2 separate regions of the Homo sapiens genome follow, and region 1 is linked to region 2. The links are contacts of gene promoters, found by promoter capture Hi-C in blood cells and fetal thymus (Javierre and others, 2016). All regions are on one chromosome and are shown on one strand. Each heading gives the region's core, a stretch centred on a gene start or on the middle of the fragment in contact. The rest is flanking DNA. Distances are from core to core; before and after follow the strand shown.

Region 1 (4,844 bases), core at 301-2,800, 190 kb before region 2:
TTTTTGTATTTTTTTTTTTAGTAGAGTTGGGGTTTCGCCATGTTGGCCAGGCTGGTCTCAAAACTCCTGGCCTCAAGTGATCCACCCACCTCGGTCCTTTAAAGTGCATGAGCCACCGTGCCCGGCCAGGTCATTAGACACATTCACAAGAACCCACCATAAATCAGGAGCTTACCCTAGGACAGAATTCTCTTGATTTCTACTCCTGTCCTCTTCCCAGTGGATTCTCCCCTCCCTCTTTGATAAGTGACAGTTTCAGAAAGGACTCAAAACAAAACCCAAAAATTGACGCTCGCAATAACACAGTCCACTTTCTTGGTTCTGTGGTCACTGGGAGGTCTGCGGTTAGGAAAACGCTGCAGTTCTTATTACTTAACTGGGAAATGGGTTTCCCGTTTTAGAAAGTATAATTACACCATCTCCCTTTGTGTTTACAGGCAGGTCAGCCAGGAACACTAGATAAGATGAAAATAAATACAAGTGTCTGCTCCTTCAATATGAAATCTATTGGCAGAGAATGCCTTCATAGCAAAGCACCAAGATAAATCAAAAGTGGAAAACCATATCGGAGGTTTTTCTTTCTGGGATTAAAATTCTACAGATGATCAGTCTTTTGCATCAGCAAATAAGCTTGAGAAGAACCTGGCAGGTTTAGTGATGTCACATCAGGGAAACACCAAGGACTAGATTTTTGCTGGAAAGAGGATGGGTAGACGGCAGAGTTACTCCATTATGCCTCTCTCCTTTCCTAGAGTCAAGGAAGTAGTTAAGAGATAAGAGGGGGATCAGTAAAGATGCTTTATTTTCTTTAAAACTCATTTTCTTTTCCTGGGTCCACAGGCATTTGGTTTCAACCCTCTGGAAGATTATTATGTCTCCAAGTCTGCAGTGGTGTTTGGGGGCTTTTATCTTTTCTTTTTCACAGAGAAGATCTTGAAGATTCTTCTTAAGCAGAAAAATGAGGTGAGGCCCAATTGTTGCTGAAGAAAGCTCTTCTAGGGAAAACACCCATCTCAAACAATGTTGATGTATTGTGGTGGTGGTGGTGATGGTCTTAGCCCAATATCACAATTTCCGTGAAACTCTAATTTCTTGAGGAGACAATCCCATTTCACCTCCTGAGGATATTTGGCCAGAAGTGAGGCCAGACCAGAAACTAGATCTGGCCAGGGTGCCTTCTACTAAGCAGTAGTTTATCCCCTTTGTTTTGTTCTAAGATTATTTCCTTAATATATTTGTATCTTTACAGGATGGGGAGAAGAGCTTGATACCATGCATTCATTCTGTATGAAGTATGAGGCTGCAGAGAAACAGGACTATTATAGTACAGTTTCAAAAAGATATCTTTAGTGGCTGGCATGCAGTTATTCCCTAAATAGCTGCTGAATTGAGTGAGATTAGCCATTGCAAAAGAGGAGCTCTAAATATTTGAGCAGTGGCTGCCTTGGTGGAATAAGCATGTACCCCGAGGAGACAGCTTTGATATCTGTCTGACACCAGGTCCTTCGCACTTGGTGCAGATTTATATATATAGATATTAGAAACGGGGTCTCGCTTCGTTGCCCAGGCTGCTCTCAAACTTCTCAGCTCAAGCAGTCCTCCCACCTCGGCCTCCCACAGTGCTGGGATTACAGGTGTGAGCCACCGTGCCCGACCATGGCTTTATATAATAGCTTTTGCTATGTTTCTGGGCACGTGACCTGCTTGTGTCATCTTCGATGGTAAGGCTGAGGTCTTCCAGTGTGTGAAGCACTTCCTTGGAGCAGGTGCTCAATCAGGTTTGTGGTTTTGGTGAATGTCATGCTGATCCCTCCCTGTCACCCTTCCAGCATCATCATGGACACAGCCATTATGCCTCTGAGTCGCTTCCCTCCAAGAAGGACCAGGAGGAGGGGGTGATGGAGAAGCTGCAGAACGGGGACCTGGACCACATGATTCCTCAGCACTGCAGCAGTGAGCTGGACGGCAAGGCGCCCATGGTGGACGAGAAGGTCATTGTGGGCTCGCTCTCTGTGCAGGTCAGTGGGCCACCAGCTGCTTGGTGGAGCCTCTAAGAGGTTGACTCAGGCTTACCTTGAGGGCACATGGTCCAGCCTTTGACGCTGTGGGCCCTGGGGGTGTGCTTTCTCCTAGGACCTGCAGGCTTCCCAGAGTGCTTGCTACTGGCTGAAAGGTGTCCGCTACTCTGATATCGGCACTCTGGCCTGGATGATCACTCTGAGCGACGGCCTCCATAATTTCATCGATGGCCTGGCCATCGGTGCTTCCTTCACTGTGTCAGTTTTCCAAGGCATCAGCACCTCGGTGGCCATCCTCTGTGAGGAGTTCCCACATGAGCTAGGTAAGCGTGCGTCCCCCGTTCCACTGGTGCTCCCTTGGGTGGTGGTGTAGGCCCCCTTCCTGTGGCCGGTTCCTTGCTCCCATCTCCCTGTCTTCACAGTGCTTATTGTAACTGATTTAACACACTCCTAAAGCTTCATGGACCCTAATCACCTTTTTTTTGGAGACGGAGTCTCGCACTGTTGCCCAGGCCGGAGTGCAGTGATGTGATCTCGGCTCACTGCAACCTCCACCTCCTGGGTTCAAGCGATTCTCCTGCCTCAGTCTCCCAAGTAGCTGGGATTACAGACGCCTGCCACCACACTCGGCTAAATTTTTTTTTTTTTTTTGGATTTTTAGTAGAGACAGGGTTTCACTACGTTGGCCAGGCTGGTCTTGAACTCCTTACCTCGTGATCCGCCCGCCTCAGCCTCCCAAAGTGCTGGGATTACAGGCTTGAGCCACCGAACGTGGCCTAACCACCATTTCTTAACGATTAAATAGATAATTTAAAATGATGGGGTTTTTACAGGGGTGTTTGTTTCCTTTTAGCCCCATATGCAGTGGCTCAGTTCTCACCTATACAGTGGGGTTAATAAGAGCACCTCCTTTTAGAATAATAGTGAGGATTAAAGGAAAACAAAGGGTGAGAGGGACTTCCCATGTGCCAGGTGCTATTCTGAGCACTCAGTAAAGGCTCTCTTTTGTAGCCTGTTAATCTTCCAAAGGCTCAGGTGCCTGGCAGGTGCATGGCAGCTGGATGAACCAGGGGGTAGGAGGGACTTAGTTTGATCAGAGGGAGAGTGTAAAAAGCTAGTAATTACTCCAGAGGCTTTAGGGACGACGTAGGGTCAAGTTCTGGCTTTGCCATATATTGACTTGTGACTTCGGGCAAATCACTTCTCACAGTCTCGACACTTAACTTCTCGCAGTTTTGATTTTGTTTCCATGGTAGTTGTGAGGAAGGGGGTTCCTTCTGTTTCACTATGAATCCAGAGAGAAATGAGGAGGCCAGTGCCAGCTGGTCATCTATTTTTAAAATCCTGAGAAAGATTTTCAGCCTTTAGGCTGGGTATACGGCCAGTTTGGCAAATGGAGACGGGTCCTGAACAGGAAGTTCAAGGGCCTGTCTTGTCACTTCTGTCTTGAGTCTAGGGCTGTCTTGATTTTTTTCACCCACACTTTTAGCAGTCTGATGTCATCGGTGCCCTCTGTCTCCCACGACCTTGTATGACTGGCTCTCACTTTGTCGCCAGGCTGGATTCAAACTCCTGAGCTCAAACAGTCCTCCCAGCTGAGCCTCCTGAGTAGCTGGGATGACAGGTGTGCATTCACCATGCCCATCTTACTCTTCCTTCCTCGTCCCTCCCCTTTTCATTCTCGCTGCTGTAGGAGACTTTGTCATCCTGCTCAACGCTGGGATGAGCATCCAACAAGCTCTCTTCTTCAACTTCCTTTCTGCCTGCTGCTGCTACCTGGGTCTGGCCTTTGGCATCCTGGCCGGCAGCCACTTCTCTGCCAACTGGATTTTTGCGCTAGCTGGAGGAATGTTCTTGTATATTTCTCTGGCTGATATGGTAAGTGTTCCACAGTTCACTGGATGAGAGGGCGGCTAAGGGGATGGATGTTAGGTAGGTAGTTTTTTTTTATTTTTATTTTTTTGAGATGGAGTCTCACTCTGTCTCCCAGGCTGGAGTGCAGTGGCATGATCTCAGCTCACTGCAACCTCCGCGTCCCGGGTTCAAGTGATTCGCCTGCCTCAGCCTCCTGAGTAGCTGGGATTACAGACGTGTGCCACCACGCCTGGCTAATTTTTGTATTTTTAGTAGAGATGGGGTTTCCCCATATTGGCCAGGCTAGTCTCGAACTCCCGGCCTCAGGTGATCCACCCGCCTCGGCATCCCAAAGTGCTGAGATTACAGGCATGAACCACCGCACATGGCTGGTAGTTTGTTTTTAATAACATCTTCCTTAGCTTTCTTTCACATACCACAGAGTTCGTCTGTTTAAGGTGTACCTACCATTCAGCGGTTTTTAAGGGGGCATTAGATTTTAAAGGAGGAAAAGTTTATGTTTTTGTTAGCATATGTCATTAAAGAAAATGATTATAATTTATCTATGGTCTTTATTAATTATTATGGAATGGCTGTATATAGATAAGAGACAGAAGAAAGGAAAGAAAATTACGCATAATCATACATCATACTACCCCTAAAACAATAATAGCAATACTTTGGTTTGTTTCTTTTTTTATCTCAATGCATTGGGTGTGTCTTTTTCTTTAATTTTTTTTTTTTAGACAGAACCTCACTCACCTAGCCTGGAGTGCAGTGTGTGATCATAGGTCACTGCAACCTTGAACTCCGGAGCTTAAGTGATCCTCCTCCCTCAGTCTCCCAAGCAGCTAGGACTACAGGCTCCAGCCACCATGCCCAGCTAATTTTTTGAATTTTTATAGAATGGGGTCTCTATGCTGCCTAGGCTGGTCTTGAACTTGTGGCCTCAAGGGATCCTCCCATCTCAGC
Region 2 (4,526 bases), core at 439-2,938:
TTAACAGCCCCGGGCTGCGCCCACACCCAGCTACCCACCAGCAGATAAACCACGTTCTCTCAACTCTAGGGCCATTGTTAGTTTTATTTCCCCCTTCTAGCCTAATGTCTTCTTTTCATTCCACAGGATCGAGTCCAGGGACCTCCCTGAAAGGCCTCAGTGCCGCCCCCACCGGAAGACCTTTATGCCATCATTAGTGGTTAAGAAGCAACGAGCAAAAAACCTTTCTGTAGGCTGAGACCTCTCGGTGCACCTGGTGACCCTGGGTGGAGGGGACTTGCTGTGAAGTCTTCCTCGCCCTCTGCCCTCTTGCTGCTTCTCCACATTGCCAGGAAAAGCTGCTGACGCCTGCCCTCCTCTCTTGAGTCGAGGGCTGAATCTTTCTCCTCTAAGCAGTCTGGTCAGGAACCTTGGTTTCTTGAGAGGCCCCCAAGATGCCGCAGCTCCAGGGCTCTTCCTCCTCACCAGAAATCCCTGGGCTTCCACAATGTGAACTCACTCATTGTCAGGTGTCCGTGGAGTGTTTTTGGCATGGTGACCTGTCTGGGCCCAGCATGTTGCAGATGTGTATTTATGCGCAATGGTATGCATATCTCTGTGTGACTGTCAGTGTTGCAAGCTGGCTGGATCCAACCATCTCTTCTGAAATAATGCATCCAAAGGGTTGATATTCTGGGGGAGGTCACTGCAGAAGGATGGAACTGACCTTTATTCCCCAGTGGGCAGTTACTGAGCTTTCCTCCTCAGAGCCATGCTGGCAGCCCTGGGACAGAGAACGGTGTGGCTTTGGCTGCCTCTGCATGGAATCTTGCCCCGGACTCCTGAAGACTGCACAAGGAATGAGGAAGATCAGGGACAACCTGGGAACTGAATAACTTTCAAAGCCAGTGCTCAGCTTCTCTGCTCCGTACTAGCGTTTACAGGTCTTAATTCAAACCAGATGCCTGTACTAGTTTTTAGACCCCAAGTCAACCTTTCTGAGCCACAGCTTCCCGCTGGGAATAATGATGCCTGCCCTATCTACCTCACAGACTTGTTATGAGGATAAAGTGAGATTAAACTGCCTCAAAGTGCTTTGTAAACCTCAGGTGAATAGGAAAGGGGAAAGTAAGGCTGGAGTGATGATGGGGAGGTCGGAGGATAAGGGGGGGCTGGGATTGCTAATGGGGACTAAAATGGCCAGTCTCCTGGCAAGATTTTGAGCAGGTCATTTCATTGAGGCCTCTTAGATTTCATATTTGAGAATTAGGGCACTGATTCCTGACTGGCTAGGCATGGTGGTCACTGGCTTGAGTCAGACCAGGAATGTCTCTTAGAAATGGTCACTGATAGGCATCCTTCTCCTCCAGTCAGGAGGGGCTGGTTTCCTTATCTGTTGCAGTCTCGACTGCCAGAGGGAGGCGAGCGTGGTAGGCAGTCGGGGGTCCCTTGTGTTTGGGGGGCCCAGCTCCCGCTTCCTTTGAGCCCGGAACCAATGATCCGAAGCCTTCTTTCCTGATGGGATTCTTTAGCGAGGACACTACCGAGGCGCGACTTCCTGACGCGCATCCGATCCGGGAAGGCGCACTTCCGCTCCCCAGTTGCCGCGGGATGGCAAGCCGGCGTGGGGGAAGGGAGAGGTCGGCGGAGACGAGGGAGGGACCATATCCGGGAGAGCGGCAGCTTCCGACCAGTGGTCGCGCTTCCGGAGAGGCGCTTCCGGTGGCGGCGGCAGCAGCGGCTGTGGTGGTTCCGGGTGTCTTTGTCCCCCCGGTGTCGCTGCCCTGGCCCGCAGGTGGGTTGGGGGGCCCCCTGCCGCCCCTCTGCCCCTTCGCCCCTCCGCCCCTCCGCTGGCCGAGGGGCTGCGAGGGCCGGGCGGCGAAGATGCGTGGGGCGCGGAAGGGGCCGAGCCCCTCTTTGGACTGCAAGTCCCGTCTCCCTGGCAACGGCCTCGGCCTTGGGGGCGGGCGGGAGGAGGAGAAACCGCGCGCCTCAGTCCTCCCTTGGTGGCCTCGCCGCGGCTCTGCTGGGAGACCCGGCGCTGGCGGCTGCTGAGGCCGGAGCGGAGGGCCCGGGAGCGTGGGAGCAGGAGGGTGGCGCGCAGCCGGTTTCGCGTTTGGTCGGCCAGGGAGCTGCCTTCCCACCAGCCGGTCGAGGAAACAACGGGTCGGGCTTCCGGGGAGAGGGCCCACACAGTCTCCTCGCCGGCACCGGCCTCCTCCATTTTTCCGGGCCTTGCGTGGAGGGTTTTGGCGGATGTTTTTGAACGAAGGAATGTCATCGGGGCTCTCTCGAGCCCCTCACCCCGCCAGCTACTCTGGGGGTGGCGTGGCATAGTGAGAGGAGCGCTAAGTTGTTGGGAGGCCTGGGTGTGAGTAGCAGTTTTGTCACTACCTGGTTATGTGGCCCCGGGCAAGTCTCTTGATCTCTCTGAGCATCAGTTTCCTTGTCTGTAAAACAGCATGACAGTATCATGCACCACTAGGTTATTGTCAGGGCAAACTGGAACAATGTAATTTCTTGTTTCATTTCTTTCTTCTCTATATTCTCTCCATCCATTGCTTTCATTCATTCTTATTACCCACCTCCCTGTTTTCCGAAATATCCTTACTTAAGATTCTCCACTTTTCCGGGTATAGATGGAAATTTCCCTTATAAGCTGTTAATTTCTTTCTTTTTGGATTGAAGCCTTTTCCCCACGACTCTGAAAGAGGACAGCGTTCCCAATGTCCCAGTTTAAGCGCCAGCGGATCAACCCGCTTCCAGGGGGACGCAACTTCTCAGGTGATCACTGTTCTCCCTACCTGGCCTCATCCTGGGAAGTATGTGCTCTGGAGTTAGTTTGGGGTTTCCCTGGTGGAGAGCAATTTGCTGCTGATGTTCCTCTGGAAAGCAGGAGATGCCCACAGTGATTGCCAGTGAAGCTCTGTGGAGGAGCTGGCTGGAGCTGTAGCCTTTGGATTTACCACATCCTTTGGTTGACTCGTGCTTAAGGTGGTAGGGGCGGTTCCTGGAGATTGCTTCTCTTTCCCCATAGGCACAGCTTCAACATCTCTTCTGGGCCCTCCTCCTGGTTTGCTCACTCCTCCTGTGGCCACAGAACTGTCCCAGAATGCCAGGCACCTTCAGGTAGGTTCGGCATCCCTTGTAGTAAGTTTCAGCCCTTGGGACTGAATGCATGGAGGCCTGGTGCTCTTTTTCTCTTACATAATAGTGTTTATCATTCCTGATCCCTCTCCTGGTAGTGGGCTAGTATGGGGTTGCCCAGATAGCCTTCAGACTGGGGCATCTTCATTTCTCGCTCCAGGGAAATCTTTAGCTTACGTCTTGGAATTAATGAACTGGAAATCCCAGAAGAAGCTTGTGGGTCAAGAACCAGCTCAAACATGCCCCAACCCCTAATGATGGAGTATGCCCACCACACCTGTACTTCACTCTGTGCGAACTCTTGATGCAGTACGCTGAGCTGGGGCGTGGGTTGAGATGAGACCTTCATGGCAGAGTGTGATTTTGTCCAGTTTCCTCCCTTTTACTTTTCAGCTGTCTCCTTCTCTTACAGGGTGGGGAGAAACAGCGGGTCTTCACTGGTATTGTTACCAGCTTGCATGACTACTTTGGGGTTGTGGATGAAGAGGTCTTTTTTCAGCTAAGGTAGGCTTGAGGTTGGTCCCCTAACGGAAATGCTTATTGGATTCAGTTCTGTCACCATGCTGGTATTGCCCCCACCCGCCTCAAAGCCATTGCTTTGCTGTTTTTGTGCAAGGTGTGGGAAATCTTGATGGGAAAGGCCTCATAGGGGCAGTCAGGGTGGCCTGGCCAGGGTCCCTCTTCTGATGGGGCCTTCTGGCTTGTGTGCTGACAGTGTGGTGAAGGGCCGTCTGCCCCAGCTGGGTGAGAAGGTGCTGGTGAAGGCTGCATACAACCCAGGCCAGGCAGTGCCCTGGAATGCTGTCAAGGTGCAAACGCTCTCCAACCAGGTATTCATATCTCCTTAGCATGTGCATTGGAAAGGGAAGGGATGGAAGCCCCTGTGCCCTGACAGCTGGGCAAAACCCTGACTTTTGTCAGGGGGGTGGGACTGCATCTTTCCAAGGTAGTGAGTGCCTCAACCATGGGGTCCCCTGAATTTCCTGGCTCCTGTTCTGCAGCCCCTACTGAAGTCCCCAGCACCTCCTCTTCTGCATGTAGCAGCCCTGGGCCAGAAGCAAGGGATCCTGGGAGCTCAGCCTCAGTTGATCTTCCAGCCTCACCGGATTCCCCCACTCTTTCCTCAGAAGCGTGAGTACGAGTGGCACTGTTGTTGGGTGTGGCATTATGGGGTAGTTTAGATCAATGGACTTTCAGGTTGCTGCTCTTAGCATAGAGGTGGGTACTTCTATGTACTGGAAGAAAGGTGGGCAATCTGGATAGGTGTTTAGGGTTTTTTTTTTTTTTTTTTTTGATGGAGTCTCGCTCTGTTGCCCAGGCTGGAGTGCAATGACACGATCTCGGCTCATTGCAACCTCTGCCTCCTGGGTTCAAGCAATTCTCCTGCCTCAGCTTCCCCC

Evidence for each region. Contacts are between HindIII fragments. The CHiCAGO score rates a contact against its expected background, and 5 or more counts as called.
Region 1: a contact is called between a fragment that was not itself captured here and the fragment with the promoter of CCAR2 in region 2, in 4 of 17 cell types (non-activated CD4 T cells, M0 macrophages, naive CD4 T cells and 1 more). The highest score is 7.4, in non-activated CD4 T cells.

The regions. Positions count from the first base shown.
Region 1 is chr8:22,413,940-22,418,783 of GRCh38, forward strand. SLC39A14 (solute carrier family 39 member 14) reads left to right here. Exons shown (of 9, transcript NM_001128431.4): 5 at 841-963; 6 at 1,830-2,018; 7 at 2,134-2,341; 8 at 3,712-3,896. Among named protein-coding and RNA genes, the nearest start is that of PPP3CC, 25 kb to the right of the region's middle. The HindIII fragment of the contact is 1,844 bases long and covers 629-2,472 here.
Region 2 is chr8:22,603,069-22,607,594 of GRCh38, forward strand. It overlaps CCAR2 (cell cycle and apoptosis regulator 2), which reads left to right and starts at 1,689. Exons shown (of 21, transcript NM_001393997.1): 1 at 1,689-1,774; 2 at 2,668-2,763; 3 at 3,017-3,108; 4 at 3,539-3,630; 5 at 3,842-3,956; 6 at 4,128-4,257. The coding sequence starts at 2,706. C8orf58 (chromosome 8 open reading frame 58) reads left to right here. Exons shown (of 7, transcript NM_001013842.3): 7 at 127-1,074. The coding sequence ends at 238. It overlaps LOC107986876 (a long non-coding RNA gene), which reads right to left and starts at 1,932. Exons shown (of 1, transcript NR_160769.1): 1 at 65-1,932. RefSeq lists enhancers at 1,407-1,516, 1,523-2,023 and silencers at 1,687-1,986, 2,047-2,106. The HindIII fragment of the contact is 4,257 bases long and covers 1-3,337 here.